Linked DNA regions of Homo sapiens: regions 2 and 3 are each linked to region 1. Evidence: promoter capture Hi-C in 16 types of primary human blood cells and fetal thymus (Javierre and others, 2016). All regions are on one chromosome and are shown on one strand. Each heading gives the region's core, a stretch centred on a gene start or on the middle of the fragment in contact. The rest is flanking DNA. Distances are from core to core; before and after follow the strand shown. Region 1 holds the start of CAGE1 (cancer antigen 1). Region 2 overlaps LYRM4 (LYR motif containing 4). Region 3 holds the start of CDYL-AS1 (CDYL antisense RNA 1).

The links. The method cuts DNA at HindIII sites, captures the fragments that hold promoters and counts their contacts. A CHiCAGO score of 5 or more calls a contact.
Region 2: a fragment that was not itself captured here is called in contact with the fragment with the promoter of CAGE1 in region 1 in 2 of 17 cell types (naive CD4 T cells and activated CD4 T cells); the score reaches 8.7 in naive CD4 T cells.
Region 3: the fragment with the promoter of CDYL-AS1 here is called in contact with the fragment with the promoter of CAGE1 in region 1 in 1 of 17 cell types (activated CD4 T cells); the score reaches 5.7 in activated CD4 T cells.

What each region holds. Positions count from the first base shown.
Region 1 is chr6:7,386,793-7,391,794 of GRCh38, reverse strand. CAGE1 (cancer antigen 1) reads left to right here and starts at 2,053. Exons shown (of 14, transcript NM_001170692.2): 1 at 2,053-2,593; 2 at 4,599-4,816. The coding sequence starts at 4,622. It overlaps RIOK1 (RIO kinase 1), which reads right to left and starts at 1,987. Exons shown (of 17, transcript NM_031480.3): 1 at 1,722-1,987. The coding sequence starts at 1,792. RefSeq lists enhancers at 1,315-2,101, 1,705-2,124, 2,255-2,304, 2,315-2,374. The HindIII fragment of the contact is 2,322 bases long and covers 301-2,622 here.
Region 2 is chr6:5,255,389-5,259,816 of GRCh38, reverse strand. The region is part of intron 1 of LYRM4 (LYR motif containing 4); the gene reads left to right. It also overlaps a transcript of FARS2 not described here. Among named protein-coding and RNA genes, the nearest start is that of LYRM4, 3.3 kb to the left of the region's middle. The HindIII fragment of the contact is 3,663 bases long and covers 613-4,275 here.
Region 3 is chr6:4,773,200-4,778,277 of GRCh38, reverse strand. CDYL-AS1 (CDYL antisense RNA 1) reads left to right here and starts at 2,852. Exons shown (of 2, transcript NR_183279.1): 1 at 2,852-3,006; 2 at 3,521-3,752. It overlaps CDYL (chromodomain Y like), which reads right to left and starts at 1,874. Exons shown (of 7, transcript NM_004824.4): 1 at 1,471-1,874. The coding sequence starts at 1,494. RefSeq lists silencers at 1,523-2,072, 2,093-2,722 and an enhancer at 2,530-3,183. The HindIII fragment of the contact is 2,312 bases long and covers 1,861-4,172 here.

The DNA of each region.
Region 1 (5,002 bases), core at 804-3,303:
TTCGTTGTGGGGGACTGTCTTCTGCACTGTAGGATTTTTAGCAGCATATCTCTGGCCTCTACTTACCAGATGCCACTAATGTACCACCACCCCCAGCTGTGACATACAAAAACGTCTCCAGAAATTGCCAAAAGTCCCCTGGGTAGAAGTCGGGATGGCAACATCTTCCCCAATGGAAAATCACTGGTGTATCCTTACAATACCCTGGGGTGGATGGTAAATTAGTGCCCTCTCATTACCATTAACTACCCACTAGCTATGCTGGCTGTGTTTCTTCTGCTGCTTTTCTTCTCTAAAGCTTTTTGTACACTTCTCCGTAACCATAAAACTGGAATGCCCTTCCTCTTTCTCTGGCTAACCCCTACTCATCCATCAAGTATCAGCTCACTATCACTTGCTCAAGGAAGTCTTCCCTATTTTTCCCCCACTTCTCCTTTGTACTACTTACCCAATTCGAATACAAATAGTCTAATTATTTAATAATATCGGTTTCCCCTGCTAGGGTGCAAGCTCTGTGTCATTCAGGATGGTATTTACCAATGCCTCCCTACCACCTAAGACTAGATCTGACTCACAGAAAGCATTCAACATACATATATTTATTGAAAACATCCCCAATAATTAACAAAATCCGCATGTGATGAATCCTTACTGTAAACATAAAGTACAAGCTGTTTTCTTGGAATTCCAAAATAACTCCAATATGTTTCATTTTGCTTTTAGGCAGGAGTTATCCTTCATCCCTCTTTCCCCAGACTCCACGTCCAGTCTACCACCAAACGCTGCCACTTCTACCTCCAAGACATATCTTTAGGATCTGGGCTCTAGTCCCCACCATCTTTGAATCTGATTACCTTATTATTTTTGAACTGGTCTCTCTGTTCCACTCCCACCCTCCATGAACATCATCTACCTAGAAAGAATGATTCCTTTAAATCACCAAGCAAATAATGTCATTCTTCTGCTAAAATCCCTCCTATGGCTTTCCATAAGACCCACATTAATATCTGAACTTTTCACCATCACTTGTAAAGGTCTCCATGATCTGGCCCCCCTTCTTACTTCTCTATCACCCTACCAATCTTCTCAACTACCTCCACTGTGCTCTAGGCACTCTGGCCTCGGGGCCTTTGCTCTTGCTGTCCCTTCTGTGTGAAATGCTGTTCCCTCTGCTCTTGCCAGGATTAGCTCCTTGTCATTCAAATCTGGACTTAACCTTTCCCTACCCATTCAGTCACCACTTGGTATATCAAACGATTTGCATAGTCTACATCATTATTTGGTTTTTAAATGGTGTGCCCTCTCTTTCACGTAGAAGGTAAAGTTCCATGACAGCAGGAAGTTGGTTCTTCTTGTTACCTCCGGCGCCCAGGACAGAACGTGGTACATATTAAGTGCTTAGTAAGTATTTGTTGAACGCTAAATGTGGTTAAAACGCAAAAACCCATGTTTCCTAATCGCTATCCCCAACTCTGCCTCCCAGTGACGCTAACCGACCTGAGAACCGCAGACTCCCTTGACAAGTAGCTTTCACTTAACTCTGCCGCGTGAACTGGGAGAAAAACCCAGCTGGGATGCAGAAACAGGCAAAGGGTTGTCAAGAGAGACGCTGAGTGATGAACCACTAGTCTCCCTCTAAACCGCAAACAAGAGTCCACACCCCAAGGGGGCGGTCAAGGAGAGAGCCGTACCCAGAGCCAGGGCACTGTACGGCCGCCTACCTGTCAGAGGAGTCCGCGTCGTCGAATTGCCCGGGGACCACCCGGCTCATGAGAAGCCGCCGGTAGTCCATGACTGGAGAGCGCCGCCGGAGGCCGCCGCTCTGCGATGGAAAGGAACGGCTCAGACGGATGTACCCACGGCCGATCCAAAGGCCTTGGCGTGGATATCCGCCTTGCAAACCATTCAGAAGCCAACAGTGGCCACCACGTGCGACGGGAAAACGGGACCGACAGATCCACCACCCTGCCACCCCAACCGGAAGCCCCTCACCGCCTCGCCCGGAAGTCTGACTTGAGCGGAAGTCCCGCCCCTGCGCCGAGCTGGGAGTCCGGAGCTCTCTGGATGGCGCGCTGTATAGGGCTGTGGATGTTCTGTGCTCTCAGGAAGGCGTGTTGAGTAGCCGGCACGGCGAGGCCCGTGCTGGCCGTTTCTTCCCGGAGTTTTCGTTTCTGTACCCCACTTTGTGTTTACTGCGGCAGGAGGCGCCAGCTAGCCCACAGGCTGTTCGGCCTAGGGGGTCGTACCTTCCTAACTTCACCACTCTCTGGGAAGACACCGCACCCACAGTAGGGTCGCTCGGGCCTCGCGGGCTGCACCTGTCTCTGCGGAGTTCCCCCGGCGCGGGCGGACGTCACACAGGGGCGTTCCAGCACTCCGGGAGCCCGATTGCGAGTTTGTGAGAGTCCTTGGTGGAGGAGGTTGGAAAGCGTTCTCCCTCCCACAAAACCCGGTGCAGAGGGAGGGAGAGCCAGGTCCGTAGCGTGGGTCCAAGAAACTATGGATCCTGGAAGTGAGCACACTTTTGTGTCTTAAAAAGTTTGGTGTCTCGTTTTGAGGTGAAAAATGAATGAGATAAGTGCTTTTTAAAAAGGTAAAGTTTGTCTTACAACTGAAAAAGCTTTTAAACAAAACTATAGTTTTTGCGAGTAACTCCCGTGACACCTCTTTTAACTCCTATCTTAAAACAGCTTTAGAATGTCTCTGGAACATCTATTCAAACATTTGATAAATATGTTAAAAATCCAACATAAACCTGTAAGGACAAATGAAAGATGGAAAAAATAGTCTAACTTTAAATTAAAAAGGTAAACTGGCAGATTGTGCAGTGCCACATGAGGGATGAACAAAGTTGTAGAAATGTAATTGGAAGTGCTGGGTTCACAAACAAGAAAACTAAGAAACAAGGCCTTTGCGCTTTTTTGCATTGGGAAAACAAAGCAAGAATTTTTCAGATCTCACCACAATCCAGGCAGCATTATTTGAAAGACAAGGGAGAAGTGAGCATAAAGTTGGGCCTTTCACTGATCCTGACTGGTCTGCTTGGCTTACTTTTTTATATTTTACCAAGTGATGACATAGGTTTGAAAACAACTAATTTTCAATAAACTATTCATTCAGAAATTCAATAAAAGAATCCAGGCAGATGAGTAATGACTATAAATTGAAAGAGCTTGATAGAAATAAGTCATTGGAATGCAGGTTTTATTCAATCAATATTTGCTGTGTAGACAGCACTGGTCCATTTGCAGTAGGGGATATTGGAAAGCCCTAAGTATGCTCCTCTCAAGACATTTATGATCTGTAAACACAAACACTAACACCCTTGAAACAGTGGTGAAGCTCTAAAACAGTAAACGAAATCACCAAGTGCTGAATTGTAAGATAGAGATTTAGAGACTGAAGACATTGTAGGAATTTTGAAAATAGATGAATGGGTAGATGGGAAGGTTTTAGGAGAGAAGCACGTGCCAGGGCAGATGACTGAAGCTTAATTCGTAAGGAACATTATCTGTCTGCAGGGAAATGAGCCTGATCTGAGTAGAGCAGGGGAGTACCGGGTAGGGGATGTCACTCCAGGCTATGGATGGCCTGGAAGGACAAAAATTTATAGAATCAATGTGAGTGGCCATCCTTTCCACTCTCAGCTCTGGAGCTCTGGACAGGCCTGAGGAAGTCAGGAGAATATGGACCAGTGTGGCAACATGGGATGGAAAGAAAGCACAGGTTACTGAAAGACTTTTTTTTTTTTTTTTTTTTTTTGAGATGGAGTCTTGCTCTGTCACCCAGGCTGGAGTGCAGTGGGCCATCTCGGCTCACTGCAAGCTCTGCCTCCGGGGTTCACGCCATTCTCCTCCCTCAGCCTCCAGAGTAGCTGGGACTACAGGCACACGCCACCGCGCCCAGCTAATTTTTTTTTTTTTTTTTTTTTGTATTTTTAGTAGAGATGGGGTTTCACCGTGTTAGCCAGGATGATCTCGATCTCCTGACCTCGTGATCCGCCCGCGTCGGCCTCCCAAAGTGCTGGGATTACAGGCGTGAGCCACCGCGCTCGGCCCTGAAAGACATTTTTAAAGGAGACATGGACGGGACTTGGTATCTGAATAGCCATGCATGATGAGGTAGAGGGATGCCAAGACAAGTCCAGTTTTCAAACACATGTACCTGAGGGAATAGGCGCAGTATAGGAAAGTGAGGAGGGAAAACAGTTACAATGCTGGGTTTGACTTGGTAGTGAGGTGTTCAAGTGGAAGGTATCAAGTAAATAAAAATCCAGGATTTTGTGGAAACTATTAGGTCTCTGATAATATTTTGTAAATATCCTTGATTAAATAACACAGAGATCCCTTCACTTCTAGGTCCAAAGCCTTCTAGGGAGTTATTGGATAGTAGCCAATACTGTTTGTTTTTCTCCAAATCAGTATTTACTACCATACCAAATTACGGTATACTCAGACTAAAATTTTTAATTTTTCTAATAACTTGACAAATGACATTTCAAATAAGGGCAGTGAACTTTGCTACTTTCTTAATGAGAAGAGGGATAGGGAAAAAACTTTTTGTTTATACCTACTAATAGACACATTTTTTTTTTAAAGAAGTCTTCTATTGTTCAACAGTTATGAACAAGGACTATCAAAAATTTTGGTCATCACCTTCAGATCCTGTACATTTTGAAGTGGATACTTCTCATGAAAAAGTAGAAAGCATGTCAGAATCGGATACCATGAATGTCAGCAATCTTTCTCAAGGTGTAATGCTTTCACATTCTCCAATCTGTATGGAAACCACCGGCACCACTTGTGACTTGCCTCAGGTGTGCATTGCTTATAAGTTCCAGGAGGCTCAGATGTATTCAGAATTCACATTGTCTTCCATATGAAAATTTCTTCAAAACTATAAGGAACAATAAAACAATATTCGGTGGACACATAAAGGAGGGGAATACAGGGTCTGGTTTTCCCAGTTTCGCTAGCGTAAGATACATTTTGACCAGCCTGGG
Region 2 (4,428 bases), core at 1,195-3,694, 2.1 Mb after region 1:
TTTGTTTTGTTTTGTTTTTACTAACTACCTGTCTCTCTCTGAGTTTGAGCCATATTCCCATGAGAAAGAATCTGGTTGGATCAACTCATCTCTTTACCTCAAGCCTCACTTAGGTGACTGGCCAGACTGTGGATTGGATGTCATAAGAGCAGAGCCTACCCTTGGAACACACCTGGTTAGGTAGGCCCCCCTCCAGCACGTGTGTGAGCTGGCAGGCCCTGAGATGGGTCTGCCCAGTACAACCTCTGTCAGAGGACAGGAACGCTAAGCCTCTTAAGCAATGACTCTCAAATTTTTAGAAACCCGCCTGGAAAATATACTCATGCTGCAAATTTGAAAACAGCATCTGGGTCATACCACTGAGGTTGTATCCACCCAGTTAAGTGGTTAAATTTCACGGGAGAGAATGATTTTACTTAATGACTTTGACTTTGGAGAATAAAGAGTGTAATAATAAGCATACTGGTGGAATTTTAGCAAGAATTAACCAAACACCTAGCACCAAGTACTTAACCAAGTCTGTTGAGGAAACACATGAAATATGCAAGTTAAATAAATAGAAACCATTTGATTTCACCATAGTCTGGAGTAAAATAGTTTGTCATTAAAGCTTACTCAGGATACACAAGGACTTGGAATCAGCAGGCAGTTCACACACTAAGGAAAGTGGCAGGGAGAGGGTTTATGTGAGAGCATGTAAGAAAGTCAAGGTGGAGCCCTCGAAGACTAACTTGGACAAGTCTCTCAATCTCTGTATTTCAGTTTTCTTGTTTATGAAATAGACTGTTGGACTAGACAATCTCTAAGGACCCTTCCATTTCTGAAATTCTCTTTGGAAATGATTTATGAGCAAATGAGGCCCAAGCGTTTTCAAATGAGTAATTGCCAACTGAACAGGAAAATCATTCACGAAACTCAACAGGAAAATCATTCAAACTTTAGGAAAATCATTCAAGACTCTACCTGAAAGGCAGAAAATTGAAAATGGGTTTCAGTATGGGCAACTGTAAGATCATATGCATTCAGAAAATAATTGATCAAATTATACCTTAAGCATATACTTTTAAGCTAAATTTACTATCCAAATATAAATATATTATCCAAAGGAATCTGATAATCATTTTATACTGTTACCTGAGATCATAGACCTAAAAACCGACATTCCTGCTATTACCTCCCTAGATAAACTTACTTGTTATAAAAATACGTCCTTTTACATTAAGGCTGTGTCTTGTGAATTTCAGGAAAAGTCCCTTCCCTCCTCTCTAATCTCTGCAGCTGTTTGTCACTGATGGCAAATCAATAGCAACACAACATCCACTATCAATTCTGTGTGCCACTGCTATCTTATGTTCTTCATGTCTATTAACACATTTGTTTTGACAATAATCTTGTGAGGTAGGTACTATTTGTATTACCCTGTAAGGCAACTGAGGCACAGGGAGCTTAAGTTACCTATCAAAACTAACACAGGTAGTGCTGAATAAGCAATCAAAAGCAGACTAGTAAACGTTTTTTAATGACCTGCGAATTGTGCCTTAAGTAATTAGAGTAGTGAAATAAATACTTTGGAACTCTCTTGCAAGACCTATAATATAGGCCACGTTTTGATAGCAGGAGCCCTGTCTGCTCCTCCAGTCTCAGCCTAAGTCCCACATGTGCATCCTGTCCTCTGTCATCATCAGTTGCAGTTTCCTAAATGTGCCACGTCCTGTTGGGCCTCCAGGCCTTTACAAGTACTGTTCTATCCAGCAGGCCCTTTATCACTCCTGTCTAGAGTGCCCCCTCTTCCTTCAAGATTGAGCTCAATTGTCACCTTCTCTGAACAAAAGTTTTCCCAACTCTCTTCATCCCACAGCTTCCACTCCCATCCCTCCCACCAGCCAAACAGGTCTCATTGCTGTGTGTCATTCTTTTACCTCAGTGCTTCTACAAAACATCTCTGAAGCATGCTTTGCCCAGTGCTATATCACAGCTATCCCCAACCTTCTTGGCACCAGGAACCAATTTCATGGAAGACAGTTTTTCCATGGACCGGGTCAAGGGAGGGGATGGTTTCGGGATGAAACTCTTCCACCTCAGATCATCAGGCATTAGATTCTCATAAGGAGCATGCAACCTAGATCACTCACATGCACAGTTCACAATAGGTGCACCTATGAGAATCTAATGCCGCCGCTGATCTGACAGGAGATGGAGCTCAGGCCATAATGCGCACTCACCCACCGCTCAACTGCTGTGTGGCCCGGTTCCTAACAGGCCACGGACCAGTACTGATGGGTTGGGGACCCCTGCTATACCAAGCCCTGGAGAGAGAAAGATGAGATTTTTGAACTAAGCTAGGCACCTGTTATCAATGGCTTTACAGGCCTATGTGGGACACAGGTACAGAGATAGTTGTCACAGACTGGGTTAAGTGCTGTGACAGAAGGATGTACAAGGTGTGGAATCTAGAAGGCCTCCCAAGGGGTGATGTTGGATCAAAGGCATGAAGCAGCTTGGTGTGGTCAGGCAGGCAAACAGCACAGCACTGCCAGGGAGGTAAGTATGATGGGGTTGGGGGGGCGGTGACAGGAAGGCACTGAGGTTGGAGAGGGCCACTGATTTGAGGGCCTGGGGGCCGTGCTGAGGACCCTGGACTTTACCCTTAGCTCACAGGCAGCCACTAACCTGACATGACCAGATTTGCATTTTCTGATAGATCACTCTGGCAGCAGTGTAGAAGATGATTTTGAGGGGCCAAGGACATCAAATGGGAGTTGATTACAACAGTGCAGAGTAGAGATTAGGACGCTAGTAAGGACAGGAATAGTGGAAGATAGAGAAGAATGTTGTATTTGATAAATCATTAGAAGGGAAAATTGTTGGAACTGGAATGATTGGATTGAGGACTAAGGAAGAAGAGAATCCAAGCAGAGTCTAGAATGGCATCCAGGTTTCTGGTTAAGCTAAAGCACAGAGAGGGTGAATTTAAACTTGCACCATTAACTGACTCAGGTAATACAGAACTAGCTGGTCTTGTGGAGAGAGGGTTTTTTAGTTCATATTTAGGGTATCTTGGGTGTAAATTTCCCCTGGGATGCCCAGCAGAGGTAGTTAATCACAGGGCTCTGAAGCTCAGAGGAGTGATGAGCACTGCAGTAGTCAGCACCACCAACTCTGTGTGACCCCACGCAAGTCACATCACTCTCTGTTCTGCAGTTTCTTTATAAAATGAGAGTCATAATTGATCCATCTCACACAGTGTAAAAGGGTCCTGAGACCAATAAGTTTAAGAACCACATTCTTTTTTTTTTTTTTTTTTTTTTTTTTTTTTTTTTTTTTTCCAGTTGAAATCTTGCCCTTGTTGCCCAGGCTGGAGGGCAATGGTGCGATCTTGGCTCACTGCAACCTCCACCTCCCAGGTTCAAGCAATTCTTCTGCCTCAGCCTCCCGAGTAGCTGGGATTACAGGTGCCTGCCACTACGCCTGGCTAATTTCTGTATTTTTAGTAGAGGCGGGGTTTCACCATATTGGCCAGGCTGATCTTGAACTCCTGACCTAAGGTGATCCGCCCACCTCGGCCTCCCAAAGTGCTGGGATTACAGGCATGAGCCACCGCGCCTGGCCAAGAACCACATTCTTAAATTTTGTCTTCTTGGCTCTTCTTCAGCCAACTCCTTCAATTCTGATGTTCCCTAGAATAGCATCCGTAGCCACTAATTTTCTCACCTTAAACTAGGATTTCTCAATCTTGGCATGACCAACCTTTTGGGCCAGCTAATTCTTTGTTAATGGGGGCTGTAGTCGGCACCACTGTGGTGAGTTAATACACATCAAGTACTTAGGATAGTCCCTGGTGCAGAATAGGTACTTGATAAGTGGAATTATCATCATAAGTCAAATTAAAACCTAGATATTAGATGAATTATCTAGGAATACTATTTAGGTTAGTAGTTCTCATCCTGGGGTGATTTTATTTGACAATATCTGAAGACGTTTTTGGTTGCCACAACTTGGAAAGGGGGTGCTAGGCATCTGAGGCCAGGGATGCACAGGGGACAACCCCCATTAACAAAGAATTAGCTGGCCCAAAAGTTTGGTCATGCCAAGATTGAGAAATCCTAGTTTAAGGTGAGAAAATTCGTGGCTACGGATGCTATTCTAGGGAACATCAAAATTGAAGTAGTTGGCTGAAGAAGAGCCAAGAAGACAAAGTTTAAGAATGTGGTTCTTCAACTTAACTGGTCTTAGGCCTTTTACGTTCTTAAATATTACTGAGGACCCCAAAAAGCTTTCATTTATGTGGGACGCATTTATCATATTAGAAAAAAAAAGCTTTTAAAAACACCTATTTTAAAGTGACTAAATCCATTATGTTAAATAACACTTTTATGAAGAATAACCATTTTTCCTCCCCCTAAATCAGCAGATTGATAGTTTGACACT
Region 3 (5,078 bases), core at 1,603-4,102, 2.6 Mb after region 1:
CAAGAGTGAACACTCATGACTAAACAACCAAAGAATGATCTAATGTAGAAACTAAAATCCCCCATACCCTCATGCTATGTACTTCCCCCTGTACAGACTTCACCTGGAAGACCTCAACCTCAAACATCCTAGCCTCCATTTCTGTGTCTTCCAGACACACAACACTTTCCTTCCTAGAAGGAAAGCTCCTGAGAACAGGGAGATTTTTCTTCTTTTACATCCCCAAATGACCTAAAATAGTATCCTGAATACAGCGGGGCACAGCTAATGTGTAAAATGGTTGAAAAGAATGGAACATTTTCAGTACCAGCTAAGGTATACTGACCACATACAATGTAAGGAGAAGCAACAACCTTACCCTTAATTCTACAGATGGCAGCTTCCTCCTGAGAACTTCTGCAAACACTTGCTCTTAAAAAGCAACAAAAAAGTTGCTAGAAGACTAACATCGCAGACAACAAAGCTCTATTCTATGCCAACAGCAATAATACGCCCATAAGAGAAGACAACTGAAAGGATCCCTGGGGCCACAGGGCTCTACTTGTTACAGATGCTTCCTTAAGTCCCTCAACACCCAGGTCCCTAAACGCATCATAAAGGTGAGTCTAGAGAGTCTTCGCAAGTTTTAAGTCTCTTAGGAACTTATTTATAAATACATGTGAAACAAGAGAATCATTTATCCAGAAGAACAGAAAGCCTTCCAAACTTCTGTACTCCCAGGAAGTCTACTTTGAAATACGTCAAAAGAAGTTACATGGAGACATACAAAACATGTCTAAAGATCCAAATTGGTAACTCTCAAACTTGAAGCTGGTTTAAACCCATCGACCAGAACTTACAGTTCTGGCTATGCCCTTCTCATTTGCAACGCTGCGGCGCAAATGAATGACGGTGTATCAGCGTTAAATTTAAATTTCCTGGCTCTGGCCACAATGCTAACCTAATTAAAGCATGTGGTCAACGTTTAGCATTTTCGGTGCGAGATTTTGCATCGCTTTGGCGAACAGCAAAGTCGAAAGCGTTTGCACCGGTCTTCTCCCCGCCACCCCCCGACCAGGGGCAAAACCCTCTCCCAAATGCTTTATCAAATGATCCAGAAACCCCCCCACACCCCACCCCCCGTACCGCCCACGGTCCCCGCCGAGCGGCAACGGAGGCACCACTTCCACGACCCACGCCAAGAGCACTTTGAGCTCAGTCCGAGCAAGTCACTTGTGTCAGCACCACTTCCCCACGGCTGGGACCCCCCCCCCCACCCCACGCCCGGCAACTTCAGGACCCCCCGGCCGGGGCCCCTCGGAACGGAGGCTCGGGCTCCCCTCACACACATTTCCCGTCCAGCAAACTGCGGCCGCGGCGGGGGAGGGGACGCGGCGGGCGCGGGCGGCGAGCGGGGCCGTCGGGCGGCGCGGCCGGGCCGGGAGGGGCGGCGGGCGGGGGGCGGCCCGAGGCCGGGGGGAGGGGAGGTACCTCGTACAGCTCCTCGGAAGCCATGGTGGGCGGCGGAGTTGCGGGCGGGAGGGGCAGGGTCGGGGCGGGCGCCGGCGCCGGGCGGCCGACACTTTGTTTCAGTTGGGTCCTGCGTGGCCTGCGCTTCCTGCTCCCGCGGCCGGCCGGGCGCTGGGCACGGACGAGCCTCTTGCACTCCGCGGCCAGTGCGGGCCGGCGGCGCGGCGGGGTTGTGCGCAGGAGCAGCTACGCAACGCGCCCTGGGCGCCCCGCGCTCACTCCCCGGCGGGCCGGCTCGCGCTCGGGCTCATCGCGCCCCGCCGCGGGGCCGGGCGGGCTGGGGCGGGCGCGGCGGCGTGCGGGCGGCGCGGCCGGATCGCGGCTCCCCTCTCCGGTGTAGTGCAGAAAGCTTCCTACTTGCGACCAAAAAACCTGCCCCGGCTACTGAGCATGCCCAGTGCGGCCGCCCGGCCCTGCGGAGCCGCGCTCCCGCGCTCCGGGTTTTCGGGCCGCCCGCGCGGGAGGGGCGGGGCGGCGGCGGGGCGGGGCAGCCGAGGGGAGCAGTGGGCTCCGCTCGGGGCCGAGGCGGGCGGCCGGCGGGGCCGGGAGCGAGCCGGCAGGAAGGGGAGGAGCGGGGCAGTCGGGGGCGGGGCCGCGAGCGCGGGGGGCGGGGTGGTGGGCGGGGCTCCGACTTCCCCAGTCCCGCTTGCGGGGTCGGCCTGGCCCGCGGCACCGCCCCCCAGCCCGCCTCGACGTGGGCGCTTGCGGCCCGGCCCAGGGCAGGCGGGACCTGGACCTCGAGGTTCGAGGCGCAGCGCGGTTGTGCACACCAGGACGGGCAGCGACGGACCCGAGATGGGGCAGGGAACCATGCGAGCGAGCCGGCCCGCGTCTGGAGCCCACCGCCCCGACGGCAGCGGCCGCGCCGTCTACCGCGCGCCTCCCTCCAGGAGGAGCCCAAGAGGCGGCCTCCGTGCGCCCGCCCGTCCGGGGCCGGGCCAGCCCGCGAAGGGCCGGCGGCGTGGCCAGGTGGAGCACCCACCCCACCCCATGCCCGCCCCACCGGCCGCCGCCAAGACCCGGAGCCCGGGCCGCGCGCCCCGCGGGGTGGCCCGGCGAGCTCCGGCTGGCACGCTGGCTCCGCGGCAGGCCGGGGGTGGGATCCGGGGGGCGGGAGCCGGGCGCGGCGGAGGGCGGCGCGAGGGCGCGGCTGCCTCCGCTCTGCCCGCAGCTCCCCCCACGCCAGGCCTCTGGGTTCCTCTCGGAGCGTCCGCCTCCTCCGAAGCGCAGCTGGGAAGGGACCGAGTCTGGATTCCAGGGAGGTCCGGGTTCTAATCGAACGAGGCTGTCAATGGTGGTTCCTTTCGCGGAACGGTGTGGACTACACGACAGGCCCTCGCTCAGAACAGCGAGGGCTGGCCCGCGCTCCACTTCCCAGGGAAGATCTACTGCCAGGGCACACCTGCCGGGCCCTGGACGTGCCCCATCGGTGGCGAAAGAAGGGGCTTCCTGACCCAACTCCCCCAGACAGCCGCCAACTCCGATCACTCTGGCCGAGTATGCGGAACTTCCCCACGGGGCACTGCAGAGGCATTAGTTCACCCTCTCCCCCAGGCCCTGCATCGGGAAGCCCTCGCCAGTTCCTCCATGTCTCCCCGGGCATCCTTCGGGCCGCCTCACTCCTCCGTGCTCCATCTCGCTCCAGTTCCTAACCTACCTTGGAGCCACAAGGCTCCTCCCACCAGTTTTCTTCCTAAAGCCCTATTCGTTTGTGCCCCCCAACAGCGTTTCAACAACCACGGGGCGTCTCACAGACCCCGCGGTTTCCTGTCCTCCCCACGCCCAGGAACAAGCACCACGCCAACCCTTAAGTCACTGCGAGTCGAATCGCCGTTCCCCTTAAGCGGTGCTTCTACCTGCGGTCCCCACCGTTTGAAACAAACTCCCAGCTCAGGGATCACCTTAAAAGGATAGCCTTCCTGACTTCCAGGGCCAAATCGGTAACTCCCTCTTCAAGCGCTGCCTAAGCACTCACGCGTGCTCACTGCAGCACTCGTCTCTGTATTTTAAGGTTTGTCTACTCTTCACCCCACCCCAACTCCAAACGATGACCTTCAGTCAGACTTCATCTTCAAATTTGACGCTGGCCCCTAGCACCATTCTCTATACAGGAAATAAGGTGTTGTTCAATGAATGGAATTTCAGTGTCCACGAGAAAGCCCAATACCTACACATCCAATTCCCATTATCAAATGTTTGCACAAGAATCGCAAATTAAAGCCACCACTTCATCAACTGGTCAAGGCGCCTCAAGCTCTGCCTCTTTCCCTGATGGCCCAGCCAATTCCCTCTCCCTCCTCCAAACAGCGCCTCTTTCCTCTCACTTAGCATTTCCATTATATGCTGCATTTCATTGTTGCCTTCTCTCTAGGTTTACCAATTTATCAACAAAAGTTGTAAGTTCCTTGAAGGCAAGGACTAGGATTTTATACATTTGGGAAATCTCAAAGCATTGAGTGCACACTTCGGCAAGCGCTCAAATACTGGCAGGTGATAGTTTAAAATCCCTCAAGAAAAATCAACTGTAAAAAAGAGATCCTCAATAGGAAATAGATACATATAACATATAAGCCTATTATGCAATGATGGACCAATACAAATACAAGCACTTCTCGCCATGACCATTACTCCAATTATTGCCCCCTTCAGAACATCCACAAGCTTAGGCATTCACAAGGGGCTCCACCATGTGCGTAATGGTACTGTGGTCTCCAAGGAGTCTCCAAAACTGCCATTGTTGCCCAGGAGAGGGAAAGAAAGGAACATAGACATCCACAACAAACATATCCAGATATTGAGCTAGTAAGGCGATTTTCCCCATTGTGGAAACAAAAAGGGGAAGAATTATAGCCTCAAAAAGGCAACTCAAAAATGTCAATTTACATAGACCTTTGTCAATTTACGTAGCTTTTCAATCTTGACAATCTGGAATGTTTATGCTGCTATCCTTAGTCTACAACATTAAGAGTAACCACCAGTAGCCTCTAAAACAAAGCAGGAGTGAGCCATACTCCTAAGTTCCAACCACCTCTCCACTCTGACAGTTGGCTTCCACTGGCGAAGGAGATGGGTATCCACCTAGCGACTGAGAAATTGAGGAAGTTCTCAATTGTCCACTTTGTTCCTTTCATCTGCCCTCCATTTAAAACTCACTGATTTATGGAATGCTATTTTGCTTATATATACATATATATTTTAACCTCATTCGTTCAATTTGTCTTACTTTTAAGCAAACTTTGCTTTCCTCCGTCACTTTTTTATATAAACATTTTACCAGCACTCATAGCAGAAGTAAATATGCCCAAGATTATTTAATGACTTGGAATTTCCACCACCTTTTATGAAACAGTGAAGTTCTGTAGTTTCCATGACCACGTGTGTGGGTGCTATTATTTTCTCAGTGGCTTAAGAATAAAAGTGAAATCACATCCCCTAAGCACACCGGGAAGATTGCAGCAAAAATACATACAGCACAATACCATGCACTAGTAAGACATATGACTCTTAAAAGATTAGAGAAGTGGTCAACAAGAGAGACGATATACACACATGATTAAAAGACACGTCTA